Regions from separate parts of the Homo sapiens genome. Here all the other regions are linked to region 4. The links are contacts of gene promoters, found by promoter capture Hi-C in human tissues and cell types (Jung and others, 2019). All regions are on one chromosome and are shown on one strand. The core of a region is centred on a gene start or on the middle of the fragment in contact, and the rest is flanking DNA. Distances in the headings are between cores, read along the strand shown. Region 1 overlaps BTBD9 (BTB domain containing 9). Region 2 overlaps BTBD9 (BTB domain containing 9). Region 3 overlaps BTBD9 (BTB domain containing 9). Region 4 holds the start of ZFAND3 (zinc finger AN1-type containing 3). Region 5 overlaps GLO1 (glyoxalase I). Region 6 overlaps BTBD9 (BTB domain containing 9).

Region 1 (2,700 bases), core at 92-2,591, 640 kb after region 4:
GTCCCTGCACTGCTGCCCTACATTCCTTCCACATTTGATTTGTCCTCCCAAAAGACTCAGGAAATAGCCTTCCCTAAAAGGCTTAGAAAATAGCCTAAACAAAAGCTCAGGATAATCCTATCATGATATAAGATTCCCCTCCTCAACAGTCTAGCTTTATTGGAAGGAAAAATGTAACATCATAACTCAGCAAAAACTAGAATAGACAGATCCCTAACAGGAAGAACTAACCAAAGATACCTGACATCATTCTAGCAGTTTTCAAAATATACTGTGAGTTTTCACTGTAGCAACATATTTCTACACAAACAACACACACAAAATCTCACTTTGTGGTCAGAAGCAAGGTCATCTGGATTATTTGAAAAATGGCAAATGGCAAAGTACCACTTATATGAATAATGGTAAATTGAAGAATATATTGATTCTGTTTCCCCCCTCCTTATAACAAATGAGAATACACAAAAAATTTAAGTATGACAAAAAAAGGCCATTTTATGAGCATCTTTGCCAGTTGAATACTTTAATTATATGACATCAAATGTTCTATTAAAGGTATTATTTCAAAGATGCCAGGCAAAGCGTAATTCATGCTATATAAAAGTCTGACCATGCTTTTATTTTTTATTTATTTTTATTTTTTGGAGACAGAGTCTCACTCTGTTGCCCAGGCTGGAGTGCAATGGTGTGATCTCGGCTCACTGCAACCTCTGCCTCCTGGGTTCAAGCAATTCTCCTGCCGCAGCCTTTCAAGTAGCTGGGATTACAGGTGCGCACCACCACGCCTGGCTAATTTTTGTATTTTTAGTAGAGACACGGTTTCACCATGTTGGCCAGGCTGGTCTCGAACTCCTGACCTCAGGTGATCCCCAGCCTCGGCCTCCCAAAGTGCTGGGATTACAGGCGTGAGCCATGTGCCTGGCTATGACCACCCTTTTATAACAAAGACATTTATCACTGAATATCCATGAGCTCTCCCACAATTCTCCAGCTAGTTTGCAGTTAGGTGAAGTCATGTTACTGGTTCTGGCCAATGGGTTGTGAGTTGAAGAACATACCACTTTCATGCTGAAAAATGTAAATGCTGGTGTATGAATCATCAACTCTGGCTTCCCATGCTGCAGTGCTGAAGGAAGCTACATGTTCCAGATAGTACAGCTATAAGAGGATAGAGCCTCCATTAGCCTAAGTCCCTGAGAGCCTACGAGGAACAGAATCCTTGACCTATGGCAGATGTGTAATGTCAACAAGAAATAGACTTTTGTTATGCTAAGTTACTGAGATTTTGTTTTTGTTGCTGTTATTACAATACAGCTTAGCCTATCCTTACCAATACACCTTCACAGTTAAAAATTATGTTCATAATTTGCTCAAAAAACCCACTTCACACTGCACACAGGTACATTTAATTTGCAAGTATAATTATTTGCAAAGACCATTTATTTTAAAGTAGAAGTCAATATGTAGCCTTTGATTTTAAAAGAGCCATTTTATTTCTTACTGTGACCTCCAGAATTGATTTGTCTACCGTGGTTTTACAACATTACGAGAACAGAGTTTTAGCTTTGTATTATTTCATTTCTTTCATCATTTTAGAAGATCATCTCAAGCTAGCTTATGATATAAATTTCAATTAGAAAATCCTAGCAAAACAGTCTATTTAACAGAGTGGGAAGTCAATGCTAATACAATTATTTCGGGGAGATAATCTGTTTGCTTATATTTTAACACCTAAGTTAACAGACTTCTCTGTTACAACACTAAACTTCCAAGGATCTGCATCTAAACCTTAGGCAGTAAGAAAATGTAAACATCACATTTCTGTAATACATGAGTTTCTCTGTACTGTCTATTTAAGTTCTGTGTTTTCTTCCTTTCCAATTTAGCAATATCACAGCAATCATCAAACAGCTGGATCCGAGAAATGATCAAACCAGTCTGCCCCTTATGTCATTTCTACCCAGGAATCTGACAACACATTCCTATTTGTTTTGTGGTTAGTAACAACATTAGTCTGAACATCATTATGCACACCGCAGTTGCGTATTTATTTCCCCTTCCAAGAGAAAAAAGAATTTACTGGTGTAATATAAGAACAATAGGACACCCCTACACTAATAGCTAGTGAATTTATAATAAACAAAAAGAAATGTTTCTTCACATACCATATAGACACTCAGCCAACCCACAGAATGTGTTACTAATCATTTCACAGTTAGGGTTTTTTTTGTTTTTGTTTTTGTTTTTTTGAGACGTAGTCTTGCTCTGTCACCGAGGCTGGAGTGCAGTGGCGTGATCCCGGCTCACTGCAGCCTCTGCCTCCTGGGTTCAAGCAATTCTCCTGCCTCAGCCTCCCAAGTAGCTGGGACTACAGGCGCCTGCCATCACGCCCGGCTAACTTTTGTATTTTAGTAGAGACGGGGTTTCACCATGTTTCCCAGGCTGATCTCCGTCTCCTGACCTCAGGTGATCCGCCCACCTTGGCCTCCCAAAGTGCTGAGATTACAGGTGTGAGCCACCACGCCCGGCCCCACAGTCTGGGTTTTTTTAAAGGCTGGATAACTTAGTAATTAATGAAATATTTTATGTTTGTCACCTAACTATGAAAGTAATTAAATTTGGTTCTTCAGGAAATTGCCTCCCTGGTTCTAACCAGGCGTTTCACGCTCACTCTGTTTACCCTCTTGGGGTAAAGGGAAT
Region 2 (2,700 bases), core at 45-2,544, 800 kb after region 4:
CCGAATTCTAGGAGTACAAAAACCAAAAGGTCAGTGGAGACTAGTGCAAGATCTTAGATTCATCAATGAGGCAGTAATTCCTCTACATTCAGTTGTACCCAACTCCTATACCCTGCTCTCTCAAATACCAGAGGAAGTGGAATGGTTCACTGTTTTGGACCTGAAGGATGCCTTCTTCTGCATTCCCCTGCACTCTGTCTGCCAGTTTCTCTTTGCCTTTGAGGATCCCACAGACCACACGTCCCAATTTACATGGACGGTTTTGCCTCAAGGGTTTAGGGATAGCCCTCATCTGTTTGGTCAGATATTGGCCCAAGATCTAGGCCACTTCTCAAGTCCAGGCACTCTGGTCCTTCAGTATGTGGATGATTTACTTTTGGCTACCAGTTTGGAAGCCTCATGCCAGCAGGCTACTCTAGATCTCCTGAACCTTCTAGCTAATCAAGGGTACAAAGCATCTAAACCGAAGGCCCAGCTCTGCCTACAACAAGTCAAATATCTAGACCTAAGCTTAGCCAGAGTAACCAGGGCCCTCAGCAAAGAACGAATACAGCCTATACTGGCTTGTCCTCGCCCTAAGACATTAAAACAGTTGCGGGGGTTCCTTGGGATCACCAACTTTTGCCAACTATGGATCCCTGGATACAGTGAGATGGCCAGGCCACTCTATACTCTAATCAAGGAGACCCAGAGGGCAAATAGTCATCTAGTAGAAAGGGAACGAGAGGCAGAAACAGCCTTCAAAACCTTAAAGCAGGCCCTAGTACAAGCTCTAGCCTTAAGCCTTCCCACAGGACAAAACTTCTCTTTATATGCCAGAGAGAGAGCAGGAATAGCTCTTGGAATCCTTACTCAGACTCACGGGACAACCCCACAACCAGTGACATACCTAAGGAAATTGATATAGTAGCAAAGAGCTGGCCTCACTGTTTACAGGTAGCTGTGGTGGTGGCCATCTTAATATCAGAGCCTATCAAAATAGTACAAGGAAAGGATCTCACTGTCTGGACTACTCATGATGTAAATGGCATACTAGGTGCCAAAGGAAATTTATGGCTATCAGACAACCACCTGCTTAGATATCAGGGGCTACTCCTTGAGGGACCAGTGCTTCAAATACGCACATGTGCGGCCCTCAACCCTGCTACTTTTCTCCCAGAGGATGGGGAACCAATCAAGCATGACTGCCAACAAATTGTAGCCCAGACTTATGCCGCCTGAGAGGAACTCTTGGAAGTCCCCTTAGCTAATCCTGACCTTAACCTATATACTGATGGAAGTTCATTTGTGGAGAATGGGATGCGAAGGGCAGGTTATGCCATAGTTAGTGATGTAACAGTACCTGAAAGCAAGCCCCTTCCCCCAGGGACCAGCACCCAGTTAGCAGAACTAGTGGTGCTTACCCAAGCCTTAGAACTGAGAAAGAAAAAAAGAATAAATGTGAACACAGATAGCAAGTACGCTTATCTAATCCTACATGCCCATGCTGCAATATGGAAAGAAAGGGAGTTCCTAACATCTGGGGGAACCCCCAATAAATACCACAAGGAAATCATGGAGTTACTGCATGCTGTACAAAAACCCAAGGAGGTGGCAGTCATACCCTGCCAAAGCCATCAAAAAGGTGAAGAGAAAAGGCAGAAGGAAACCGTCGGGCAGATGCTGAGGCCAAAATTGCTGCCAGGCGGAACCTCCCAACAGAAATACCTATGGAAGGACCCTTGGTATGGAACAACCCTGTCCAAGAGATTAAGCCCCAGTATTCCCTGACCAAAACAGAATGGGGACTTTCACAGGGGCATAGTTTTCTCCCCCTGGGGTGGTTAACGACATTAGAGGGGAAGGTACTCATACCCGAAGCCAGCCAGTGGAAAATACTTAAGTCCCTCCACCAAACTTTTCATATGGGTATTAAGAACACTCATCAAATGGCCAAATCCCTATTTACAAGGCCAAATCTCCTCTGGACCATCTGACAAGTAGTCAAAGCCTGTGAGGTGTGCCAAAGGATAATCCCTCGGTCCGTTGTAAGGCCCCTCTGGGGCAACAAAGAATAGGGCACTATCCCGGGGAGCACTGGCAGTTAGACTTCTCCCATATGCCTAAGTCAAGGGGATTTCAATACTATGTTAGTCCCTGTTGATAACTTTACAAATTGGATAGAAGCCTTCCCCTGCAAGACAGAGAAGGCTCAGGAAGTGGTTAAAGTCCTAATTCATGAAATAATTCCTAGATTTGGGCTTCCCCAAAGCTTACAAAGTGACAATCGTCCAGCTTTTAAAGCCACAGTAACTTAGGGAATTTCCAGGGCACTAGGGATACAATATTACCTTCACTGCACCTGGAGGCCACAATCCTCAGGCCCCATCTCTGATAGGACCAAAAATACCCTAATAGGATACGCAATCCAGCTTTTATGCTCTTACATTTCCAACCTCACCTATTACACAAGCAATGAAAAGCCTATACATGGCCCTGTAACCACGAACACCGTGTTAACTTTCCAAGCCCCTTTATGCATCCAATGCAACCTGTTATCAGGCCTGCCCCTGGGGCACCTACTATCCCATCAGTGTAATTACACCCTACAACTTCAAGCCCCAACTGATCATAGTAACTTCCCAGTTACCCAAACAGCTCCATTCAGATGGCTTGTCGCCCTGCTTCACAGTCTGGGTTTTGTAATGGCAAACATACTCC
Region 3 (2,700 bases), core at 150-2,649, 710 kb after region 4:
AGTTTCAGACCAGCCTGGCCAACATAGTGAAACCCCATCTCTACTAAAAACACAAAAAATTAGCTGGGCATGGTGGCATGTACCTGTAATCCCAGCTACCTGGGAGGCTGAGGCAGGAGAATCACTGGAACCCAGGAGTTAGAGGTTGCAATGAGCCAAGATCGCACCACTGCACTCCAGAGCGAGACTCTGTCTCAAAAAAAAAAAAAAAAAAAAAAAAAAAAAAAAAGATGTGATTTGGTGGGGGCCAGGGCAGAATGATATGACTTGGTTCTGTGTCCTCACCCAAATCTCATGTCTAATTGTAATCCCCATGTATCAAGGGAGGAAACTGTAATCCCCACATGTCAAGGGAGGGAGGTGACTGGATCACAGGGGCAGTATCCCCCATGCTGTTCTCATGATAGTGAGTGAGTTCTCACGAGAGGTGATCATTTTATAAGGCAGTTTTCCCTGCTCTTGCTCACTCTCTCTCCTGCAATCTTGTGAAGGTGCCTGCTTCCCCTTCTGTCATGACTGTATGTTTCCTGAGGCCTCCCTAGCCATGCAGAACTATGAGTCAATTAAACCTCTTTCCTTTATAAATTACCCAGTCTTGGATAGTATCTTTACAGCAGTGTGAAAAGGGACTAATACAAGGACATTCTACATTGTAGTTAAACCACATCAATATAAGTCAGAATCATAATCAGAAACCAATTTCCTAGGAAAGGAAAGACTCTATCACCATGATTCCCACTTTTTTTTTAATCATGACAAATCACTCTCATGAAAATCAGAAATAGGAAGGCAGAATAAGACAGCCGAACAGAATCCTCCGGTGATCATCCCTCCAGCAAGAACACCAAATTTAACAACTATCCACATAAAAAAAGCCCCTTCATAAGAATGAAGAGTCAGGTAAGTGATCATAATAATATTATATTAAGGAAAGAGGCACTGAAGAGGGTAGGAAAGACAGTCTTGAATCACCTACAACATCCCTTCCCCATTCCCCAGTAGTGGCCATGGCCATGTGGCACAAAGAGAGAATCTGTGCACTTGGAGGGAGGCAGAGTGTAGTGACTGTGGGACTTTGCATTGGAACTCAGTGCTATTTTGTCACAGTGGAAAGCAGCACTGGGCAGAACTCAGTTGGCACCTATCAGAGGGAGCATTTAGACCAGCCCTAGCCAGAAAGAAATTGCCCACCCCAGGGCTCAGAACCTGAGTCCTGGCAAGCCCTGCCACCACATGCTAAAGTGTTCCGGGGCCTTCAATGAACTGGAAAGGCAGTCTAGACCACAAGGAATTAAATGTCTATGCAAGTCCTGGTGCTGTGCTGGGCTCGAAGCCAGTGGACCTGGGGGGCACGTGACCCAGTGATACACAAGCCAGGGTGGCCACGGAAATGCTTGCAACACCCCTCCCCCAATCCCAAGCAGCACAGCTCGCAGCTCTCAGAGAGACTTCTTACCTCTGTTTGAGAAGAGGAGAGGAGAAGGAAGAGTATTTTGTCTTAACATGGATAACAGCTCAGTCATGGTAGAATATGGCACCAGGCAGAATCCTGAGGCCCCCATTCCAGGTGCTAGCTCCCAGATGACACTTCTAAACACATCTTGGGCCAGAAAGGAACTGTTGCCTTGAAGGGAAGGACCCAGTCCTGGCAGAATTCATTACCTGCTGACTAAAGAGCCTTTGGGCCCTGAATAATTAACAGGAATAGCCAGGCAGGCAGTACTCATTGTGGGCCTTGGGTAAGACTAAGAGCTGTGCTGGCTTCAGGTGTGTGACCCACCACATTCCCAGCTGTGGTGGATACAGGAAGAGATCCTTTCTGCTTAAGAAAAAGAGAGACAAGAGTAAATGGGACATTGTCTTGCAGCTTGGGTGCCAGGTTGGCCACAGTGGGATAGAGCACCAAGTGGGCTCCTGGAGTCCCCAGTTCTAGGCCTTGACTCCTGGGTGGCAATTCTGGACCTGTCCTGGTCCTGAAGGGAGCCCACTGCCCTGAAGGAAGAGACTCAGGACTGGCAGCATTCACTACAAGCTGACTGAGAAGCCCTTGGGACTTGAATGAACATCAGCCATAGCCAGGCAGTGGTCACTGTGGGGCTTGGGAAAGACCCATTGCTAAGCTGGCTTCAGGTCTGAATTAACAGCCTGTATCACCCCTCCTCCAGTTCCAGGCATCTCAGCAGAGAGAGACTCCATTTGTTTGGGGGAAAGAAAAGAAGAGTCTCCACCTGGTAATCCAAGAAATTCTCTTGGATATTACCCAAGACCACCAGGGTGGTACCTCTATGAGTCTGCAAGACCCACAGTGTTACTAAGCTTGGGGTGCCCCCTAAAGCAGATATAGCTGCAGTGACCAAAGACTTAGATCCCTTTGACTACCTGGGAAGCCTTCCCAAGAAGGACAGATACAGACAAGCCCAGACTGCAAAGACTACAACAAATACCTAATCTCAGTGTCCAGACTCTGATGAACACCCACAAGCATTAAGACCATCCAGGAAAACATGACCTCACATGTTGCGGGAAGTCAGGGACCCCGAACAGAGGGACTGGCTGGAGCCTCGGCGGAGGAACATAAATTGTGAAGATTTCATAGACATTTATCAGTTCCCAAATAATAACTTTTGTAATTTCTTATGCCTGTCTTTACTTTAATCTCTTAATCCTGTTATCTTCATAAGCTGAGGATGTACGTCACCT
Region 4 (2,700 bases), core at 175-2,674:
GGTAATCAAATTAATCTAGGTAATAGTCTCTCTGAGGCTCTGATATACCCGACAGGCAAGGAGGGTATACGGCAGCTATTCCTAAGAGCCAGGAAGTCTTCCTCAGCGATGGGTCTCCAAAAGGTCTGGAGGATGTTGCCTCCGTGTTGAATTAGTCATCAATAATCGATTTCTCTGTTCATGACTAACTGGAGATCAGAATGAGCTCAGGATCAAGGACTAGGATCGTTAAAGGACTCATTTTTTTAGTGTCTCAAACTTCTTTGGTCACTTACCAATTTCCATTACTGATTCAGCTACAGCTCCCCTTTCCCCTCCAAAAACCAAACGTGTCAGCTGTAGGAAGAAGTGCGGCTCTCCTAGCCTGGGCATAGGGACTCGCCTGGGCATAGATAATGTACTTGTGGCTCTGTGGTTGGGAGTGGAGACAAGGAACTCCCCAACACCGGTGGGGGAGAAGAGACAAGGAAGTTGCCCCAGACAAGGGGCTGGGGGAGGGGCATTTCCCAAAAGTTCCTGTCAAGAGACCAGTATACCGGGTGGAACTATAAGAGTTGTTTGGGTGTGGCGGGACCAGGAAGAGAGAGAGAGATGCCCAGGGAGTTGGCAAATTGGGGAGAATGGCTCCCCGGAATCGCCCAGGAGCCAGAGCGGCAGCTCCAGGGACCTTGACTCCGACGCCCCCGGGAAGCCAGAGCTCCACTTCCGCGTTTGGCATTGCTCCCCCAGGCCCCTCCTCGCACTCGGTTACGGGTTCTACGGGCGCATGCGCCGCCACTCTGGGACTGGCCCAATTTACCCTACACAACTAATCTGCTCCTCCCCCTCCCGCTTGGAGCGCACCATTCGCGTTTAGGGGGAGGCACCGCGCCCCGGAGTACTCAGAAACCTGCTCCCCTTCTTCAGACAGGGGGAAGATAAGTTTGCTTCAGATTCTAAAAGTTCTAAGAATACGAAGGCCTCAGCCGCCCGTCGCCGGGCGACAGCCCGAGGCTCTCGTTTTCTCCCACAGCCCCGCACTCCGCCTTTGAGGCGCGGAACGAAGTGGCACGCCCGGATCCCAGCTGATCAGCGGCTGGGCTTTGGCGTTGGCTCCCCCGGGCGAGACCATTGTGACTCCTCGGGAGGGGCGCACGCCGGGGAGGGGGCGGAGCGGCCATTGTCCGGTCAGCGCAGCCTCCGGGGGAGGGGACGGTGTTACGGAGACAGCAGGGCCCGGGGCTTCAGAGCGGCCGCTGCGACTCCGGAGCCGGCGGGGGGCTCCGGTCCTTCCCTGCGCCACCGCACAGGACATCTCTCTGGCTGGGGAGCGGCGGTGAGACCCGCCGAGGGCGTCTGTGTCCCTCCTCCCCCGCGGTCCTCGGTGCGTCCGCACGCCCCTCCTCCTCGGCTCCCTCCTTCTTCTCTCCGCGCCTCTCCGCCCCCTCCCCGTCTCCGCAGGCCGAGTGGTGCGGCCCGCCTCCAGCTGACCGGCCTGGAATCCCGGCTCCGAGCCCCGGACTCGCGCCCGCCCGCGCGCCCGCTCCTTCCCCCTCCCCCCGCCCCGAGCCCCCCGACGCCGCCGCCACCGCCTCCTCAGAGCGGGGCCCGGGCCCAGCCGCCGCCACCGCTGCCGCCGCCGAGCTCCGCCGCCGCCGAGCACCATGGGAGACGCTGGGAGCGAGCGCAGCAAAGCGCCCAGCCTGCCGCCTCGCTGTCCCTGCGGCTTCTGGGGGTAAGTGCCCGGCCGGGTGGGGGCGGGGGGCGGGGGCCGGGGGCGCAGACGCCAGGGCAGCCTGGGCAGGCCTCGGGGCCCGGGAGGCCGGAACCTTGGAGGCTGGGCCCAGCCCGGGCCTACGGGGAGGGGGTGGGGGTCGCGTTCCGGGGAGGGGTGCCGGGTGGGGAGCTGGGGGTGGGCAGAGAAGGCCCTGCCGGGGGTGCGTTGCTACCCTTTGGGACTCGCCGGCCTGAAGCTCGGGCCCACGGGGGCCTCCTGGGCCACGGGTGAGGGGGGCAGGGCGGCGGGGAGGGATGAGGGGGCGGCGTTGACCGCTCCGGGAGGAGCAGGGGTGCCCCTTCCGTGGGCATGTGGAAGCCAGCCCTTCCTCCCTCCCGGGGCGTGAGTTGGTGCCCAGGCACTAGGAGGGTATTTCCTCTGACTTCTTCACCTCCCCTCCTCCCCGTCCTCCGGAGACTTGCATCATCACTTCCTAGATTATATCCCAGTGCCCCATTTGCTTTTAGGAAGCTATTCACACGTCACCCGTTTGTAAAAACCGAGTCCAGAACCAGGCTGGGGTAAAGTTATAAGATTGTTGAGGTCTCACCTTCATGTAAAACACGTTTCAGGAGATATGTAAAATTTCCTTGTCAAAAAGGAAGAAAAAAACCACACAAAACCTGAAGTCAGCCTGGATTGGGGAATATGAGATCCAGTTTCCTCAGTTGGCTCTCAAATTCTCCTCTTTCTCAATTTAAGTAAAAATGATAAAAATGTTGACAGTGGGTAGCATATATTGTTTGGCCATCATGTGTTAAGGCGAAAAAAATGTGAGGTGGGAAATCAGCTCCTCTTCCTCCCCCCATTACTGTTTAAATTCTCCTGGTAACACTTTAAGCTTCATGGATTGCCACCTAACAGGTGCCTCCATCATACCACATGACTGTAGTTCTGCAGTAAGAAAGCTGGAGACTTTGAAGGCTGGCTTTTGTGATTTGAGT
Region 5 (2,700 bases), core at 35-2,534, 870 kb after region 4:
GGCTATTTTTTCATCTTTTTCTTTAGGGATGTCATTTTTATCCTCATAAGCCAAGAAGTAGAGTGAAAACTTCATAATGGGAAAATCACATTTTTGGATTAGCCTGCAATGAAAAAACAACAAGCCTGAATCATTAACAACAGGAAAGGCTAATTCATACTATAATCAACATAACTTAATATTCAAGTTTTACTAAAAAGAAGAGCTATATGTAGTAAGCCTATTTTAATGGAATAAGCAGGAGGAAAAATCAGTGAAAAAATATCATGAAAAATGCATCTGTAAATATTTGAAATACAAAAATGAAAACTTCTGTAATTCATCAATTCTGTAAATATAGTAACATTTAGCTGAAATTATGGTACTTGTTAATAAATAGAAACGGCTATCTCCAAAAGAGAACTGTGTTTATTTGTACTGAAAAATATAAAGAACCTTGTTGCTATTTCATATATATACACACATACAAACACATATATAAATATGTCATTCAGTTAAATAAACACATTTATTGAGTTCTTACTATGCCAAAACATCTAGGAAAGGAAATTAAGGATAGGTGGTAAGAAAGAAGGAGGAAGGACAGACTAGTATCACAGAAGACGTGAATGTCAACAGTAAGGTGGCTAACAGTATCAGATACTGTAGAAAGGTCAAACAGTATTAAGACTAAGAAAAGGTCATGAGATATGGAAAGGTCCCATGAGAGCAATGTCAGCAGAGTGGGGAAGCATCAGCTGGATTACACTGTACTGGGGAGAGAGAATGGCAGGTGAGCAGGTAAAACAGTAGCAAGCATGGCAGTGACAATGGGGAGGTAGGCGAAGGAGCAGAGGGCAAGAAATATTCTGGAACAAAGAAGACTTACGCTTCTCTGAGGGGAAAGAGACAGTAGAAGAGACTGATGGGAGAGAGAGTGAATGAATTATGAATCCTGAGGTTTTAAGAAAGATAACTGAAGTCCTGAACCTTAAATGACTTTAAATGGTATAGGATTATTTGGCAAGGAGTAAGGTGGCATGAGAATGCATATATGATTTTCTTTAGATTATTCAAAGATGACTTTGTTCATAATCAATAAGAGCAAATGGCTGTTATTGCCATATAGCAAATGGAAAGTTTCTAGAGTTCTGCTTCCAATCTTTTATTTCATTATCACTGCTATATAATAGACCTTGGCCCACTTAGATCCTTGCATTGACTTATCACAAATAAGATTTACTCTAACATGTTTATAATAAAGTATCAAACACCTCAAATACTCCAATCATGAAAAACAATCTCTGCACCTACTAAAGCAGACTACACAACCCTCATGGACCAATCAGTTGGGACTGAAGGAAATGAAACTGTTGCAACTTGCTTTTCTCAGCTGTTCAAATCTTCCAGCTTACTGTCAACTTGTACCCTATTTGGGGGCTCTGCACAGGAAGTCTACATTAGAGCCCATCAGACAATGGATACAGGTTCCAGCCCTGCCATATGCCAACTGTGGGATTTGGAGCTAGTAACTTCATCTCATTAAGCTTTGGTTTCTCCGTCTGTGAAATGGGGATAAAAGCTACCTCCTAAGACTGGTGTGAAGACTGAACAAAATAACATTTGAAGTGCCTGGCAAAAGTGTTCAATAAATCTGTTTTCATTTTGTCCTTTAAATATGTCATAAATATATTCATAATACCTTTTTCTAGAAAAAAATCACAAGAAACTGGACAGCAGTTATCTCTGGGGAGAAGAACTTGGGGAGGGAAGCTATTACTTTTCATTTTGTATTTTTCTGAACTGGTCAAATTTTCTAAATATAGACATATATTACTTAAATTTTTCTCTCAATGTGAATGGAAGTTATCTAGGCACTAAATTTAAAGATTATTTTATTATTCATGTATCTATATGCTCAAAAGCAAAATGCTCACATAACTTAGGGAAACAAATCAACAATATGACAAAATTATTTCTCAATATACCTCAGTAAAGCTGGAGAAAAAAAGAAAAATAAACATGCTTTAGAAAAATAAGTATGCTTTAGGATTGCAAGATCAGTGGATATGACCTGTTGAGCAAAAGAAAACACAGCCTAGAAAAATAGAACAGATGGTCAGTTTTAAGTAAACCCATTGGTTTTCTGAGTAGTAAGTTCTTATTATCTATAACTTTTCTGAAGTAAACAAGAGGCTAAAAGTGGCCAGAACATCAAAAGGGGTCTGAACACATTAAGGATTTAGCTGGGAGCGCTCAGAGAAGGCAGACTGGAGAAAATGCAACTATTTGTGTCTTGTTTTGCCCTTTCAGGCTGGCTGGGATAGAGAAGAAAAAGAACTTACGAGAGAAGCCCTGTCCAGCCAGGCCTAATCACAGACTCCTGGCCAAAAGAACTTCTGTTACTTCTGAAACAAACTTTAAGATGGGTCTGAAAACACTCTCTAGATTTGCAAAGCTATATATTTAAACATTAAGGTGCCAATAAGTACTTGACTTACGTCATTCCAAGAACTCTAGTATAAAAATCCAGTGACTTCTTAGGATCCTTCACTCGTAGCATGGTCTGCTGCAATAGAAAATCCTATGGAAAAATATTTATATTAAACATCTTTCACTTTTACCATTTATTACCAACATTAATTGTGCTTTCTGTAACAAGATACAAACACAATTGTTAACCTACCACCTACAACTTGCAAGGGCTCTCTGCTCAGTGGT
Region 6 (2,700 bases), core at 193-2,692, 620 kb after region 4:
TGGGGAGGTGGTTGCAGGAGACTTTTGAATACAGAATCCTATATGAGATGCTATAGAGAGTTACAGAGAAGAAACTTATCACCTTATCCTAGGAGATGTTTTTGTTTTAGAGAGGGGGTCCCAGTCTGTCGTCCGGGCTGGACAACGCGAGCCAATCATGGCTCACGGCAGCCTTGAACATCTGAGATGTTCCCACCTCAGCTTCGGGAGTAGCTAGGACTACAGGCACCCGCTACCGTGCCTGGCTAGTTAAAAAAAATTTTTTTTCATAGAAACAGATCTCATTTTGTTGCTCAGGCTGGTCTTACACTCCTGGGCTCAAGTGATCCTCCCACCTTGGCCTCCAAAAGCACTAGTATTAAAGGCATGAGCCACCACACCCAGCCTCTGAGAGATATTAAGAAAGCAATAATAGCTGGCATTTATTGAGCTTTTACTGGGTGCCAGATACTATTCTAAGTGCTTTACATATATTACCTCATTATTCCTGACAACAACCTATGAAGTGGATGTTATCAACAGTCCAATTTTACATATGGCCCAAACAAAAGTTAAAGTCATACAGTTATACCTAAAGGTATACAACTAGAAAGTACAGAGCTGAGAGATAACCCAGTCTGGTTCTACAGCCCCTCTCTGATGCATGAAGCCTTCCTCCCAAAATTCCCGAGATGGTAAAAGTTCCTATTTTAAGGGACCAGGCAAAACTGCGGCAAGAGAGAATAGCTTCCCAGTACTAGATTGCACAGAAATACATATAACAAAATCACAGTGCCTTCATAATGCTGATGTTGGTGAGACAGTTTTTGTTAGGCTCCATTGCTGTTTTGTAGGGGCAACATTTTGTCTGTGAATTCCTATAATAACAGAGTCTGGGCCGGGTGCAGTGGCTCACACCTGTAATCCCAGCACTTTGGGAGGCCGAGGCGGGCAGGTCACGAGGTCAGGAGTTCGACACCAGCCTGGCCAACATAGTGAAACCCCGTCTCTACTAAAAATATAAAAATTAGCTGGGCATGGTGGTGCCTGCCTGTAGTCCCAGCCTACTCGGGAGGCTTGAACCTGGGAGGCGGAGGTTTCAGTGAGCCAAGATCACGCCACTGCATTCCAGCTTGGGCAAGAGAGCGAGACTTCATCTCAAAAAAAAGTCGTACTATATATATATTTAAAATAAAAACAGAAGTACTAAGTACATGGAGAGGAAGAATACACCCAAAGAAGTTAATATGATGACCCCAGAAGCTTCACCCAGTCCACACTGTTTAACAACAGATGTCCCTCCTGTGAAGAAGGAAAGTTGGAGGTCATATAGAACAGACTCATTTGTACTCTTTTTTTTTTTTTTTTTTTTTTTTTGAGATGGAGTTTCGCTTTTGTTGCCCAGGCTGCAGTGCAATGGTGCAATCTCGGCTTACCGCAACCTCTGCCTCCCAGGTTCAAGTGATTCTCCTGCCTCAGCCTCCTGAGTAGCTGGGATTACAGGCATGTGCCACCATACCCAGCTAAATTTGTATTTTTAGTAGATAGGGGTTTTTCCATGTTGGTCAGGCTGGTCTCAAACTCCCAACCTCAGGTGGTCTGCCCGCCTTGGCCTCCCAAAGTGCTGGGATTACATGTGTGAGCCACCGCGCTTGGCCCATTTGTGCTCTTAAAACATAAAAGGATCAAGGATTTTTTAAAAAAAAATTGTAAGAAACTCAAGCTAGACAGAATCATCTTAATTTCTGCTATGTTTGTGAAGCAAGTATTGACTTGGCAGGCAAATGGATTGTGGTGGTATGACTTTGTAACACAATGGACCACATGAACAATTTAACAAACAAAGCTAGAATTCTATACTAACTTTATCAGAGAAGAAAAATTCAGGCTGCTGTGAGGGGAATCAACAGAGACTGAAACCCTGACACTGACAGACAAATGTCCTCTGAAGCCAATATATAACACACTTAAGATTAGTTTAGGCTGGTCTTGCTTCTAGGTGAAGGGGTGAGAATATGTTTTCCCTGGCTCAACTTACCACACCTCAATGCCTACAGATGTGTTATCACCTAACTGTTCACTTGTTTCTGTCATGTGTTTTCATGTTCATTTCACAATGCATGCCCTGCCCCTGTCTCACTTTCCCCTTATTCTGGCATATCAACTCGTATTTCCCAATTTCCCACTATAAAGGGCATACAGTGCTACCACTTCCTCTCTCCTCCAAAATAGCTTCTCCACCATTCTCACTCATTATAGGGATTAGCAAGCAGGCAGCTGCTCAAGCCAGAAATCAGGAAGTTGGCCCTGAACACACTCTCTTTGTCTCTCTCTCTCTTTCTCTCGCTCACTCATTTCCACCTCTTACCCACATGCACACATCCAATTAATCGCCAAGTCCTAAACTGGCTTCCTTCTAAATCTCTCAAATCTATTTACATCTCCTGCCCTTGTTGCTACGACCTTAGCCTCCTAGCTAGCATCTCTTCTCTCATCAAAATTACTAAACAGTCTCCTTACTGGTCTCCCCATCCACTCTGAGCTCCCTCTAATCCACTCCACACCTCTGCCCAGGGGTATGATTCTTCAAAACGGAGCGGTTTTGAAAGATACAAATCTGCTTGTGTCATTCCCCTGCTTAAGTGGTTTCCTGCCTCTACAGGCTGCATCAGTGTGACCTAATCTGCTCTTGCCTTTGGTCACTGTGCTCTCTTCTTAACA

What was found. Contacts are between HindIII fragments. The study calls those that stand out against the background at their distance.
Region 1: a contact is called between a fragment that was not itself captured here and the fragment with the promoter of ZFAND3 in region 4, in 2 of the 25 tissues and cell types used here (hippocampus and mesenchymal stem cells).
Region 2: a fragment that was not itself captured here is called in contact with the fragment with the promoter of ZFAND3 in region 4 in 1 of the 25 tissues and cell types used here (aorta).
Region 3: a fragment that was not itself captured here is called in contact with the fragment with the promoter of ZFAND3 in region 4 in 4 of the 25 tissues and cell types used here (dorsolateral prefrontal cortex, lymphoblastoid cells, mesenchymal stem cells and 1 more).
Region 5: a contact is called between a fragment that was not itself captured here and the fragment with the promoter of ZFAND3 in region 4, in 1 of the 25 tissues and cell types used here (lymphoblastoid cells).
Region 6: a contact is called between a fragment that was not itself captured here and the fragment with the promoter of ZFAND3 in region 4, in 3 of the 25 tissues and cell types used here (adrenal gland, pancreas and thymus).

Annotation. Positions count from the first base shown.
Region 1 is chr6:38,458,393-38,461,092 of GRCh38, forward strand. The region is part of intron 6 of BTBD9 (BTB domain containing 9); the gene reads right to left. Among named protein-coding and RNA genes, the nearest start is that of BTBD9-AS1, 22 kb to the right of the region's middle. The HindIII fragment of the contact is 4,329 bases long and covers 1-2,700 here.
Region 2 is chr6:38,620,170-38,622,869 of GRCh38, forward strand. The region is part of intron 1 of BTBD9 (BTB domain containing 9); the gene reads right to left. Among named protein-coding and RNA genes, the nearest start is that of BTBD9, 18 kb to the right of the region's middle. The HindIII fragment of the contact is 3,822 bases long and covers 1-2,700 here.
Region 3 is chr6:38,527,068-38,529,767 of GRCh38, forward strand. The region is part of intron 6 of BTBD9 (BTB domain containing 9); the gene reads right to left. Among named protein-coding and RNA genes, the nearest start is that of BTBD9-AS1, 47 kb to the left of the region's middle. The HindIII fragment of the contact is 8,466 bases long and covers 1-2,700 here.
Region 4 is chr6:37,818,303-37,821,002 of GRCh38, forward strand. It overlaps ZFAND3 (zinc finger AN1-type containing 3), which reads left to right and starts at 1,425. Exons shown (of 6, transcript NM_021943.3): 1 at 1,425-1,714. The coding sequence starts at 1,644. It overlaps ZFAND3-DT (ZFAND3 divergent transcript), which reads right to left and starts at 1,085. Exons shown (of 2, transcript XR_007059569.1): 1 at 276-1,085; 2 at 1-188. RefSeq lists enhancers at 632-1,021, 991-1,793 and silencers at 1,072-1,451, 1,492-1,721, 1,882-2,051. The HindIII fragment of the contact is 25,591 bases long and covers 1-2,700 here.
Region 5 is chr6:38,684,412-38,687,111 of GRCh38, forward strand. It overlaps GLO1 (glyoxalase I), which reads right to left. Exons shown (of 6, transcript NM_006708.3): 2 at 2,481-2,563; 3 at 1-103. Among named protein-coding and RNA genes, the nearest start is that of GLO1, 17 kb to the right of the region's middle. The HindIII fragment of the contact is 8,095 bases long and covers 1-2,700 here.
Region 6 is chr6:38,441,331-38,444,030 of GRCh38, forward strand. All of the region lies in intron 6 of BTBD9 (BTB domain containing 9), which reads right to left. Among named protein-coding and RNA genes, the nearest start is that of BTBD9-AS1, 39 kb to the right of the region's middle. The HindIII fragment of the contact is 4,862 bases long and covers 1-2,700 here.